Regions from separate parts of the Homo sapiens genome. Here region 2 is linked to region 1. The links are contacts of gene promoters, found by promoter capture Hi-C in blood cells and fetal thymus (Javierre and others, 2016). All regions are on one chromosome and are shown on one strand. The core of a region is centred on a gene start or on the middle of the fragment in contact, and the rest is flanking DNA. Distances in the headings are between cores, read along the strand shown. Region 1 holds the start of PPM1F (protein phosphatase, Mg2+/Mn2+ dependent 1F). Region 2 has its middle 72 kb from the start of IGLL5.

Evidence for each region. Contacts are between HindIII fragments. The CHiCAGO score rates a contact against its expected background, and 5 or more counts as called.
Region 2: a fragment that was not itself captured here is called in contact with the fragment with the promoter of PPM1F in region 1 in 1 of 17 cell types (total B cells); the score reaches 6.6 in total B cells.

What each region holds. Positions count from the first base shown.
Region 1 is chr22:21,950,525-21,956,918 of GRCh38, forward strand. It overlaps PPM1F (protein phosphatase, Mg2+/Mn2+ dependent 1F), which reads right to left and starts at 2,324. Exons shown (of 8, transcript NM_014634.4): 1 at 2,268-2,324. RefSeq lists enhancers at 1,477-1,546, 1,593-2,113 and a silencer at 2,107-2,516. The HindIII fragment of the contact is 22,373 bases long and covers 1-6,394 here.
Region 2 is chr22:22,956,859-22,963,205 of GRCh38, forward strand. No RefSeq gene overlaps it. Among named protein-coding and RNA genes, the nearest start is that of IGLL5, 72 kb to the left of the region's middle. The HindIII fragment of the contact is 1,860 bases long and covers 1,800-3,659 here.

The sequences.
Region 1 (6,394 bases), core at 1,074-3,573:
TGCAGAACCAAGGTAATGAAAAAAACCCAGCAATCCTTAGAAAAGGGAACTGCACCACTATAGTGTAACAAAAGCATCATTCATGTTAACTGTTTTTTTTTGTTTTTGTTTTTTTTGAGACAGAGTCTTGCTCTGTCACCCAGGCCGGAGTGCAGTGGCGCAATCTTGGCTCACGGCAACCTCCGCCTCTCAGGTTCAAGTGATTCTCCTGCCTAAGCCTCCCTAGTAGCTGGGATTACAGGCACCCACAACCACGCCTGGCTAATTTTTTTGTATTTTTAGTAGAGATGGGGTTTCACCATGTTGGCCAGGCTGGTCTCGAACTCCTGACCTCAGGTGATCTGCCCGCCTCAGCCTCCCAAAGTGCTGTGATTACAGGTATGAGACACCACGCCTGGCCAACCTTTTTCTACCAAAAGAGATTCTTATTTCTTTATTCATAACTACTAATACTAATAATAGTTAGATGTAAATCCTAGATTTTTTTTCTACATATATAAATTTTTTTTATTGTTGTAAAATATACACACTATGTATCCTTTTAACCATTTCTAAGCGTACAGTTCCATGGCATTAAGCATAGTCACATTGCTGTGCAATGACCATTTCTTTCTACAGGCCTGACTTTCTTGATAGACTGTAAGCTCCCTGTAGTCAGGGAGCCCACGATGGCCCTTTGTGTACAGCAGGTGGTAAGTGTGATGGCAGAGGGAAGAGTGACTGGCGGGTGGCATGGGCTGAGGAAGCTACACCACTCTGAAGGGTGCAGTGGGCAGCAGCGCCAGGTCTTAAAAGACTCGGTTGGCTTCAGGTCAGATGGTATCCTTTTTTTTTTTTTTTTTTTTTTTGAGAGGGAGTTTCGCTCTTGTTGCCCAGGCTGGAGTGCAATGGTGGGATCTCAGCTCACTGCAACCTTCGCCTCCCAGGTTCAAGCAATTCTCCTGCCTCAGCCTCCTGAGTAGCTAGGATTACAGGCACCTGCCACCACGCGCGGCTAATTTTTGTATTTTTAGTAGAGATGGGATTTTGCCATGCTGGTCTGGAACTCTTGACCTCAGGTGATATGCCTGCCTCGGCCTCCCAAAGTGCTGGGATTACAGGTATGAGCCACCGCGCCCGGCCTTCAGGGGGTATCTTAAAGGAATTCCACAAATGAACTTGTGTAGAGGTTCATGGCTTTCAGAAATGCATTCGTTTTGTTTACCTCTCACAACTACGCTGAGAAGTACATACTGTCAGGCTACACTGCAGATGAAGAAATAGGTTATAGGAGGGCAAGCACCCATTTAAGGTCTCACACAGGTGAAAGGGCAAAGCGAACTCAATCAAGGTCTCTGGATGCCCAATGCCTTTGGTATTTCCACCTCGCGTGCAGGAGGAAAAGAGCGAAATTTGACAACAGAAGAGACTGGAGATGGCCTCAGAGTGCTGGCCGGCCCCACTTTCTATCCCCCGTGGTGAGAGCTCAGCTGGGCCCAGAGAACTTGTCCCGGGGAATGCCACCACGACATGTGTGACTCTGTCCCGCAGGGTGGAAGGCTTCGAAGGAGCCCGCCACCATGCAGTGGGCCTCACTGTGTGTCAAGCGCTGTGCCGAAATCCCTGCAGCCGGAGCCAGTTCTTCCTGTTGTACAGACAGGTTCAGGGGCTTGCCTGACCGAACCCAGCGGCAATGTGCCCGGCCTCCGCGCCTGAGGCTCTGGCTCACAGACCTGTGGCTGAAGCAGCTGCAGCCCGAGCACTTGTGCAGCTGACGCTCGCTTCACGGACGCTTGGGAGGCCGCGGAGCCGGGGGCCATCAGGCAGACTGGGCCCCTGAAGGTGCAGGGACTGGGGGGATATGGGGCAACGTGCCGGCCCAGAGGCTCCTGGGGGGTGGGGAGAGGCCAAATCTCGGAAAATGGGGCGCGTCCCCCTCAGCACCCGATTCTGCCTCATAGCCCTCGGTCCCTACCAGGCCCTCGGCTCGGCCACACCCCCGCCTGCCCCCCAGTTCTGCCCCCTTGGCTCCCCAGCCCCCCAACTCCCAGCCTCGGGTTCCTCATGTCCGCAGCGGCCCCTCTTGCTCCTCGGCCCCCCGCACTGCACCCCCGCACCCTTTCGGTGCACCCATGTGAGCCTCGTCTCGGCCTCCTTGCCTCCCCAGCCCTCTGATTCCACCCCTCCGGTTCCTCGGTCCCATTTCACCCCTGTGCGCCTTGGGCGCTCGCCTGACCCTCGTCCCAGCCCCGTCAGCCCTCTAATCCCGTCCCCCCCGGCCTCCTCACCCCTGGTCTCCGCGGGCCTCAGCTGTCTCCTCGCGGCTCCGTGTCCCGCAAGCTGCTGCCGGCCGGCCCCGCCCACTTCCCGTCCCTGGCCGCCGCGGGCGCCGCGGGCGCCGCGCAGGCGCAGTCGGGCCTCCAGGCTGGCGGGGCCGGACCTCTGCTGCCCCCTGGCGGCTACGTGGACGGTGACTGCGGCCCTTTAGTGGTAGGCGAACTGCGGCTCCACCTGGGCTCCGGAGCCGCCCCAGTCACCAGCCTCTTGCTTCTCTTCTGCAGCTTTGGGTGGGCGGCTGGATGGGGAAAGCAATCCCTAGGTCACAGCGCCCAGAAATTAAGCAACTTCTGCCGTCAATAGCTGGTAAGTGACAGAGCAGGGATGCAAACCCAGACTGCCCAGGCAGGCTCATCCGTCCGGGAAGGAGGCACAGTCCCAGGCTCATTATGAGTTGTTTGTTTCCACAAACGTTGAGGCTTTTGTTATCTTTCCGTTCTGGAGGTCAGAAGTCCACTTAGCCTCAGTGGGCGAAGATCCAGGGATCGCCAGAATGCGTTCCTTTCTGAGGATTCTAGGGGAGAAACTGTTCCCCTGCCTTTTCCAGCTCCTAAGGGCTCCCTGCATACCTTGGCTCGTGGCCCCTTCCTACAGCCTCGAAGCCAGCAATGGCCAGTTGAGCCTTTCTCACACTGCCACCTCTGGTTCCCTCCTCTGCTTCCTTCTGCTACTTCTAAAGACCCTCCTGATGCCATTGGGCCCACCCAGATAGTCCAGCATCATCTCTCTAAATCAGTTGATTAGCAACCTTAATTCCCCTTTGCCCCTTATTATTATTATTATTTTTTTTTGACACGGAGTCTCACCCTGTCACCCAGGCTGTACTGCAGTGGCATGACCTCGACTCACTGCAACCTCTGCCTCCCTGGTTCAAGCGATTTTCCTGCCTCAGCCTCCCGAGTAGCTGGGACTGCAGGCACGCACCACCATGCCCGGCTAATTTTTTTTGTATTTTTAGTAGAGATGGGGTTTCACCATGTTGGTCAGGCTGGTCTCAAACTCCTGACCTCAAATGATCTGCCTGCCTCGGCCTCCCAAAGTGCTGGGATTACAGTACAGGCGTGAGCCACTATGCCGGGTCTGCCATGTAATCTAACACAGGCACAGGTATAGGACATGAACATCTCTGAAGGGCCATTTTTCTGCCAACACAGAGGCTCTTGAAAATATTCTTTTTCTCTCTTTTTAGAGACAAGCTCCTTCTCTGGTGCCCACACTGGAGTGCAGTGGCATGATCACAGCTCACTGCAGCCTCAAACTCCTGGGCTCAAGTGACCCTCCCCTCCTGCCTCAGCCTTCCTAGTGTCTGGGAACACAGGCAAGCACCACCACGCCCAGCTGATTAAAAAAAATTTGTAGAGACAGGGTCTCTATGTTGCCCAGGCTGGTCTTGAACTCTTGGGCTCAAGTGATCCTCCTGCCTCAGCCTTCCCAAGTGCTGGGATTATAGGTGTGAACCATTACACCTGGCCAAAATATTTTATTTTAAAGGCAGAAGAAAGAAACCTTTATGTCAAAGAAAATGTTTTAATATATGATATTAATATATTCACCTTTATACCAATGCCGTTGGAAAGTATAATTTTTTAAATGGAGGATGGGGCACCAGATCTTATGTGGCTCTGCCCACCTGACCTTCAGGTCCGCAGGCCTGTGTCCTTGCCAGGAATGAATGTCTCTGGGATGCTTCTCTAACAGGAGGAACCTGGAGTGAGACCAGGAACCTGGAGAACTAGCAGCTGGGTGACTGGAAAGGAAACCATCTGGGGTGGGGTTGGGTCTGCAAGGCAGGAGGTGTCTGGGCAGAGAAAGCAGGGCTGGGGCGGAGGGTCCTGCCTCATCCCATTCTCCTGCTCACTCTTTCCTAGATCCCTGTCAGGGCAGTAACCATGAGCAAGGCTTGAGGCTACTTCTTATAAACAGTGGCCCTGGGCACATTCCTTAGCTCACCTGAGCCTCAGTTTCTTGATGAGAAAAAATCGGGACAATAGCAACCAACCTATCTCAGAGGGCTGCTGTGAGACCCTGAGCCACTGTTTCTCAAACTGCCCCTGAGATCACCTACAACAGAATGGCTGTAGGGTGAAGTTTGAGAACCGCAGTACAGGTGAGGTGGTGCGTGGGGCAGGCCCTCCCACACTGTAAAGTGCAGTGTGGTGCGGTAAAAGCTGATATTCCCGCAGGCATCCTCAGAGTGGGCCCAATTAGACTCTTGAGCACTGATTCCATTCAAGGTCTGCGGCTTAGAGAGGATGGCAAAGTGAGGCACCACCAGGAGCTTGTCCCTATGGGCTCCAGGCCAAGGACGTGCCTGGAGATGACTCCTGCCTTGTGGCGCTGTCACTGCCTCACTGTCCACATTCCATCACGCCTCAGATCCTGGCTTCCACCCTGGTGAAAGGAATCTTTCAATATCACCCACCCAGCCACAGACGCTTCTCTGCTTCTCTGGCAAGGCTGCACCCCTGGCTAGGTGGGCAGGGCCAGGGGCTCCTTGAGACAGTCTGCAGCCACTGACCTCTCCAGCCTCCAGGGCAGAGGTACAGTCCCATGGAGCGTGGCTGATCTGAAGGCAGTTCTGGCCTAAAAGGGGTCTTGTCCCTTCCTTGTCCTCATTGCTCCCAAGGCCAGGTTGGCAGCAGTAGCAGCGGGGTTGGATGCTATTGGATGGGAGAAGGTGAATGGACTCGGAGTGCAGAATCAAGCTGCGGAAGCCAAGGGCCTTGAAGGAGGGTCACACACAAGGGACAACTGCAGAGGAAAATAAAGGAACACTTTGTGATTAGCCCTGCCTGTGGCTGAAAGCGCAGTGCAGAAGCATAGTAAGGAAGGACTGGGTGGTCTGGGTTTAAGACCTAGGAACCGTCTCTGCTCCTCCAAGCCTGAATGAGCCCTATAACCTAAGGGTCCTGGAGGTCTTGAAACCTTCTGCGGAGAAGGCTCCAGGTCCACTGGGCCCTGTGGGTGGAAGAGCAGAGTCACAGCCCCGCACTGGGGACCTAACAGGTGTGGCCTTGCTAGGGCCCCAGAATGGGACCAGAGTGGGTGGGAGGGGGCAGAAGCTCTGAGAGCACCCCCTCCTTCCTGAAGCCTGTGCTTCTGAGACACATCCCAGGACCCTCTATGTGGTTCCCCATGTCTCTGTATTTTCATTCAGCTTCGAGTAGCTCTCCAAACTGTGTTCCAGGGAACCCCCGTGTTAACCTGTGAGGGCCTCCAGGAAGGGGGTCCAGGGGGGGTATGCTTGGTGGGCTCTGGGTTTCCTTACAGGAGCTCTCATATAAGTCCTGGTGCAGCCTGGGAATCTACTACTGAGTTGGGGCGGGGGCGGGTCTGAGTCCGAAACATTCCTGACCTGCCCCTCAAAGAAAGGTCCCACTGAACAGTCTGGAAAGCTGTTTTGCTGAGCTCCCGTCATCACTCAATGAGGCACGGGCGGAGTGTGGAGGGAGTTTCCAACACACAGTGGATCCCGCACAGGTGTCTCTCCTCGGGTGGCTGGGGAGGGGAGCACAAGAAGGCACTGAGGTCAGAGGGCAGCTGCCACCAGCACCTGGCACCACACGGCAGTCTGGCCTACAGGGTATTTTCTAAACCTGGCATGTGAATGGGTTCCATGGGGCACCCAGCTGCCTCTAAGACCATAAGGGCTTGTTGTGAGAATGGGAATTGCAGCAGGTCCTGGGAAGCTGCCAGACGCACACGGGCACCATGTACAGGGCTTCTCAGAGATGGGAGCAGGGAGCAGGGGACGGAGAAGTGTGGGGTCAAGAGCGTGGCCCTGAGCAGGGGGCTGCAGCGAAGACCAAGGGGATTCATAAGCCAGATCCGGGGAGGGGGTCTCCCAGCCCCACCTGCTCCACTAGACTCCTCTCCTGCCGGAGCCACAGCTGTCAAGGCCGCCTTCCTTAAGGCATCAGGGCCACTGCTTGTGCACACAGCTACCATCAGCAGCACGGATTGAGATGGGGTGTGAGTGCAAACTGGGTCTATTCCCCAGGGCTTCAGGGTTGGGGCATCCCTGCCCGTACTGCCAGGGTGTAGGGATAGCAGGGAGCACTCTGGGCACGTGTATGCA
Region 2 (6,347 bases), core at 1,480-3,979, 1.0 Mb after region 1:
GTGATCCTCCTGCCTCAGCCTCCTGAGTAGCCGGGACTACATGCACACACCACCACACTTAGCTAATTTTTGTATTTTTTGTAGAGATGGGGAATCTCATTATTTGCCTAAGCTGGTCTCGAACTCCTGGCCTCAAGGAATCCTCCCACCTTGGCCTCCCAAAGTGCTGGGATTACAGGCATGAGCCACCACATCCAGCTTCCATAGTGAACTGTTAAAGAAGGCATCTGTTTAGCCCAGGACTCTACTTTCCATATCCCTAAAAGGGCAATGTGTGAAAAGATTATCTGTGCAAATATAAAGTCCCTGGCTGCTGCTTCTACAGACAAGCTCCTACTGCATCCTCAGGCAATCACCTTTCCACCCTGGGGCTGATCCTCCAGACCTGCACCAGCCCACCCACATACCCCTGGGCAATGATAGGCCCTTCCATGGACCAGCTTCTGCTCACACTCTCTGGCAAGCGTCTTGGCCTCTGGCAGGCTACAGCTCACAGCAAAACCATGCTCTCCTGGAAAAGTCTGAATCTCAGCCTTGCCTGGGGTCCCATTCTCAAGCTCTTAGTTCCTTCACTCACTCCGCGTGAGTCGGTAGCTGCTTTCTGAATCTGCTACTCATGAACGTTGTACAGTCCTGCTTTATCCTTTTCATGAGCTCACCACTCTTTATAGTTTAACAACTCTGAAAAAATCCCTGTTCAAATTACTGGTGTGGTTTGCCTCCTGAGTCTACCCTGGTTGACACAATATCTCAGCATCAAAAGATGGCATGGAAATGAAGGTCATCTCCGAACTGCTACTATGATAGACCTTCAATCAAATGAAGTCAAATGAAGCCTTCAGGCATTCATCTTGCAGAATGCAAACAGTCAGCTGCCACAGGGAACTGCAGAAGGCAAGCGTTGTGACCAAACCATAAATGCTGGTCAGCCCCATCTAAATCAGGTTAAAATGGGGATAGATATCAGCCAGTGAGAACACAGGCAGCTTTCTTTGGAATGGCCACTTCGGGGGTGGTGGGTGAGCAAAGAATGGATGCAGATGCTCTCTCCTCTCCAAGGAGCAATGTGGACTTCAAAGCCCACAAAGATTCGTGAGATTTATTCCTAGAATAAGTACCCTAGAGAAGCCCGCCCAGCAGAGTATAAAAGAAATCAAGAATTTCCGGTGGACCCAGAACGTGTCACAGCTTGGGGCCAAATAAATTACACTCCTGCAAATGCCTCGGGCCTAGCTCCAGTAAAAAGTGACAGGACAGCCATGTGTCCAAAAGCTAGTGCATTGCACAGCAAGGAGGAAACCAATTTCCTTTAGCCTTTGCTCCCCTAGAGACGTCATATGACCAGAGTGAGGTTGGACACTCAGCTCTCTATCTTTTCAAATAATTCCCCATCTCCAAGTTCATGGAAAGAGAGAAAACCATCATGTCACCATAGCGATGACTCCTCTAATGATGGTTCAGAGTGGAAAACTTCTGACTTCAAGGATGGCCTCATACAGGATGGACGTGAATGCTGGTCCTCAAAACCCCAATGTCACATTTTTAAAAATCTGACCATCCCTCAGTCAGTGTCAGGGGTTTTCATGTGGGAAACCTCAAAGAAGGTGAGAAGGCAGGGGAGGTGTAACCCACAGTAATTATTAATAAAACCAACATTCCAGGACAAACTACTGCTAAGGAGGTTGAATTTTTTTTCTAAATGATCCTTCACAAGTAAAATAAGGAACTGGAGTCCTTGGACTGATCGCTATATTATGCTAAATGGATGACAGAATACAGCTCAGGAGTCAAAGATCATAAGCTTCCAAGTGGCCACAGGGACAATAAGCCTTTCAGCCCTTGGGTAATAAAGTCAGACAATCTGGTCCAGCAGCCAGAAGATGGCTGAGCTGGAGGAACATCGATGATGGGACAGTCCCAGCGTCCGCCCTCTCTGCTGGAAGGACATTAGCTGCTGAGAATAACTGGATCCAAATTGTTAACGTGACCCCCCACTGCTCATGGGGATGAAGAAAAAGATCTGGGGTGATTGGAACCTTACAAAGCAGGGACACAGATGCTTTATGTCTTTCGAAGGTCTAGTTGTAAAAACAAGACCCGAAAGCAGCCTCTCGGTCTTTTCACTGCTGGCCAGCAAAACTGGGAGAGGACTATGTTGTGATGTCCCCAGGATATCCTTCATGATTGCCACCAAGATCTGCTGGGATAGGTGCCCAAGACCTGGAAGGAACACTAAACTAGAGACCCAGGGATGCACACACCTTGCATGTTCTCACAATGAGGCTAAACCAGACTCATCACCGAAGAAATGCCAGCCAACAGCCTGTGGACATGGATGCAGATTGACTATTCCAGCCCCTCAGTGAACAAGCTCCAAGTGTGTTTCCTTGTAAAGCAGTTATACAGGTCAAAAATCACTTCATCACAAATGAAATACGGTCAAACTACCACAAAACACAGGGCTAAAATATCTCATCACCGGAGGGTGCCAGAGACCACCAAATATAATCCAGATTCAAGGCAGTCCATGTGAAAATTGCCCACCAGGTGGCGGAAATGCAGGGAGACGGCCAGCATGTACAGATAATTTGTTTCCCGGGTCCACACATTATCTGATGAGAGTGAATCTGACCCTAGAAGAGAACTACACAACTACTTGGTTGCATTAGGGTTCAACAAGACTGTGCACGCTCCAAAAATTCTCAAAAAGGTCAAATCCAAGTAACAAGGGTTTTAGCCTATGAACCAAGGTGTGGCTAGAGAAAAGATTGTTTGAATTTGAAAAGAAGCTAGGAGGTTGACTCACTGGGGCATCTATCCTTGAGTCTTCCTGCAGTGGGAGGCAGAGTGAGCGGTCAGCTGGGCATCCACATCTAGAGTGTTGAAAACCTCCTGGGGGTGGAGACGGGGGACTTCCACTTCCAGAATGGGCAATTGTGTGTGTGTATAAAATATTTAAGATATATGTATTTATTTAAAGTCTCTAGAAATGGCCTTAGGGCATACAGCAAATAAAAAAACATTTAATTCAAGAACATCTATTAAAACCTGGCAAGAAATGGGAGGGTCTGTGGCATTTCAACCACGACCTGCTCCATTCCTCCCACTGCCAGCAAAATGTGACAGAAACTCCACTCCAGGTGGGTACAGCCAAGGACACAGCACTGTCTCCACCCAGCTCCCAGTCAAGGGCTATGGTATTTTCCCAAGAAGGAAAATCCATCAGCATTTTTCTTCCCACCCCAGCTACCTGTTGCAGAGACTAAATTCCAGGTGATTGTAGTAATCGGTTGAGGCTCTCTTCTTTTGCTCAGCCCCTACTTGTGGGACAAAAGCCCTGCCTTGGGTGCAACACACTGAGAATACTGGCACCATCAACCAGCTCATTTGTAAAGTAGAGGTTCCATGCTATGAGAAGCAAGCTGGGAATACAATAGACTCTCCAATAAGCACCCACCTCCTAAAGCAGGGGTGTCACTCAGAAAGTAGCTACCTACCACTGTCCCCACCCAGCCCCAGAGCCATAGCCAAAAGCTCCTGAAACATTTCCCCAAGAGGAAAGGCAGGACATAGAGAGCTCTAAAGCCCTTCCCGAATGAACTGACTTTATTTGCAAATGAGTACAAAGTTCAACATTAAGGGGACTTTCAAAACAATGAAGCTTGGGCAAAAAGCAATTGAGAGGAAACTGGTAAGTTCATTAGTGACATAAACTAGACCATAGGCCAGCTAGTTTATCAGAGAGAACCAGGAAAAGACATGGCTAAAAACAGACCTCTTGGGGTCAAAGCAAACCTCAAACACTGACCTCAAAAACTATCCCTGCAAATGAGCCTCAGTTTAATTGGATAAGTCATCTCAATAAAGGTGTTTTTTAAAGAAAAAAAACAGCAATAACAATTATACATTCTGGTCAACATGGAGTAACAGGAGCTGGATTTATTTTTAGGCCTGGAATAATTTTAAAAACAACACAAAATATTTAAGTCACTGGACATCAGGCAATGAAAGATAGTGGTTTATAAGAGATGAGAAATGAATAAGATGAGCCCCACGATTGCCCCAGATTACTGCATGGAGAGTTTCCAGTCTGAGGCTCAAGGAGGAGAGAACGTAACCACAGCCCACTGGCCTCCCCGAGTTGAAGAAACAGAGCTGCTTGGGATCCCAGGCCGCTGGAGTTCATAGGGCAGAGTACCAAAGAGGAGGGAGCTTAACAGAAAGAGAACTCTGCAAATACGAGAGTGTAAGTATTATACTGAGTAGTGATCAGTGTATGCATATGAGGAATGTACCTGAGGCCAAGAAAAAGACTACCCAAAAGCATTGAACAGAACAATCCCCAGAGAAAATTCAGGGCTGAAAATAATGCCTGACCTCATCAACAAGTACAGAAAATCTCATAATTCATTAAGCATCAGGTAGAGTACTCAGAGGAGTCTTCCTGATCTGTGGACAAAATTAACCATAGACTTAATGCTGTTGTGGTCTCATGTAAAAATGTTAAAAGAAAGCTGGGGATAGATTAAACTGTTTCAAAATAATTTAACTGTGTACCAGAACACAACTTAAGAATACAAAAATATCTAGCACCTGCAAAGATAAAATGCACAATGTCTAGCATTCAACTACAAATTAACATGCAGGCAAAGAAGTGGAAGAATATGATCCATAGTTAGGAAAATATCAGCCAGTCAAAGCTGATCCAAAATTGACATAGGTAATAAATAGATAAGGTCATTAAAGCAGTTATTATAATACTATTCCATATGTATAAGGAACTAGAGGAAGGATTAAACATTTTTGGCGAATGCACAGAAGGTTTTTTCTAAAACCAAATTAAACTTATAGAAAACAATGTGATGAAAAATACACTAGATGGAATTAATGACAGATTAGAAACTGCAGAAGAAAAGATTAGTGAACTTGAAGGCAGAGCAGTAGAAATTATACAAAATTATCAGAGGGTTAAAGGACTAAAAAAATAAAGAGAACATCAGTGACCTGTGAGATAAATGCCAGTGGTAAAATATATATGTGGTTAAAGTCTCTGAAAAAGAAGAGGGGATTTGAAAAAATAATGACAGAAAATTTTCTTAATGTGATGAAAACTGTATACCTACGGATTAAAAAAGTTCAACCAACCGTAATCACAAAAACATGAAGAAAACCATACCAAGTCACACTATGATCATCAAATTTCTTAAACCAACTCATCTAAGAGAAAATTTTAAGTGGCCAGAAGAAAAAAAATACATTATATGCAGAAGAACAAAGAAAAGGATGACAGCAGATTTCTCAGAAAAACAATGCAAGTGGCCAGGTACAGTGGCTCATGCCAGTAATCCCACCACTTTGGGAGGCCGAGATGAGAGGATAACTTGAGGCCAGGAGTTCAAGACCAACCTGGGCAACATAGCGAGACCCTGTCTCTACAAAAAAAAAATTTTTTTAATTAGCTGGTGTGATGGTGCATCACTGTAGTCCTAGCTACTCAGGAAGCTAAGGCAGGAGGATCACTTGAGCCCAGGAGTTAGAGGCTGCACTGAGCTATAATCACATCACTGCACTCCAGCCTTAGCAACAGAGTGAGACCCTGTCTCAACAAAATAAAAAATAAAAGACACAATGCAAGTTAGAAGAGAGTGGAACAATATCTTTAAAGAATTTAAAGGAAAAAAGTTCATCCTAGAATTATTTACCTAGCACAAATATCTTTCGAAAAAGAAGGCTGAGATTTTTTAGACGTACAAAAGCTGAATGTATCATTGAATTTTCACTATAAGAATTTTTAAAGAAAGTCTTCAAGCAAAAAGAAAATGACATCGCATGGAAATCTGGGTCTACACAAAGGAGTAACGAAGGGTGCCAAAAATGGAAACTATATGGATAAATATACAGACTTGTTCCTAATTATTTAAATCTCTTTAAAGAATATTAAACTATTTAAAGGAGAAATAATGACATTCATAAATTAAAATTTAACATTTATAACAAATGTAAAGTAAAACATACAACAATATCACAGAGGCTAGAGAGGAGAAATGAAGTACAGATACTGGGAGATCAGTTCCAAGACCACCCAAGGATACCAAAATCTAAGGATGCTCTAGTGCCTTATATAAAATAATGTAGTATTTGCATATAACTTAAGCACATTCTCCCATATACTTTAAATCATCTCTAGATTACTTATAATACCTAATACATGTAAATTATCTGTAAATAGTTGTTATACTGCATTGCTTTTATTATTGTATTATTTTTAGCAATAAAATATTTTTTAATTTTTAATTTTAATTTGGGTGGGTACCTAGGCAGGTATATGTATTTATGGGATACATGAG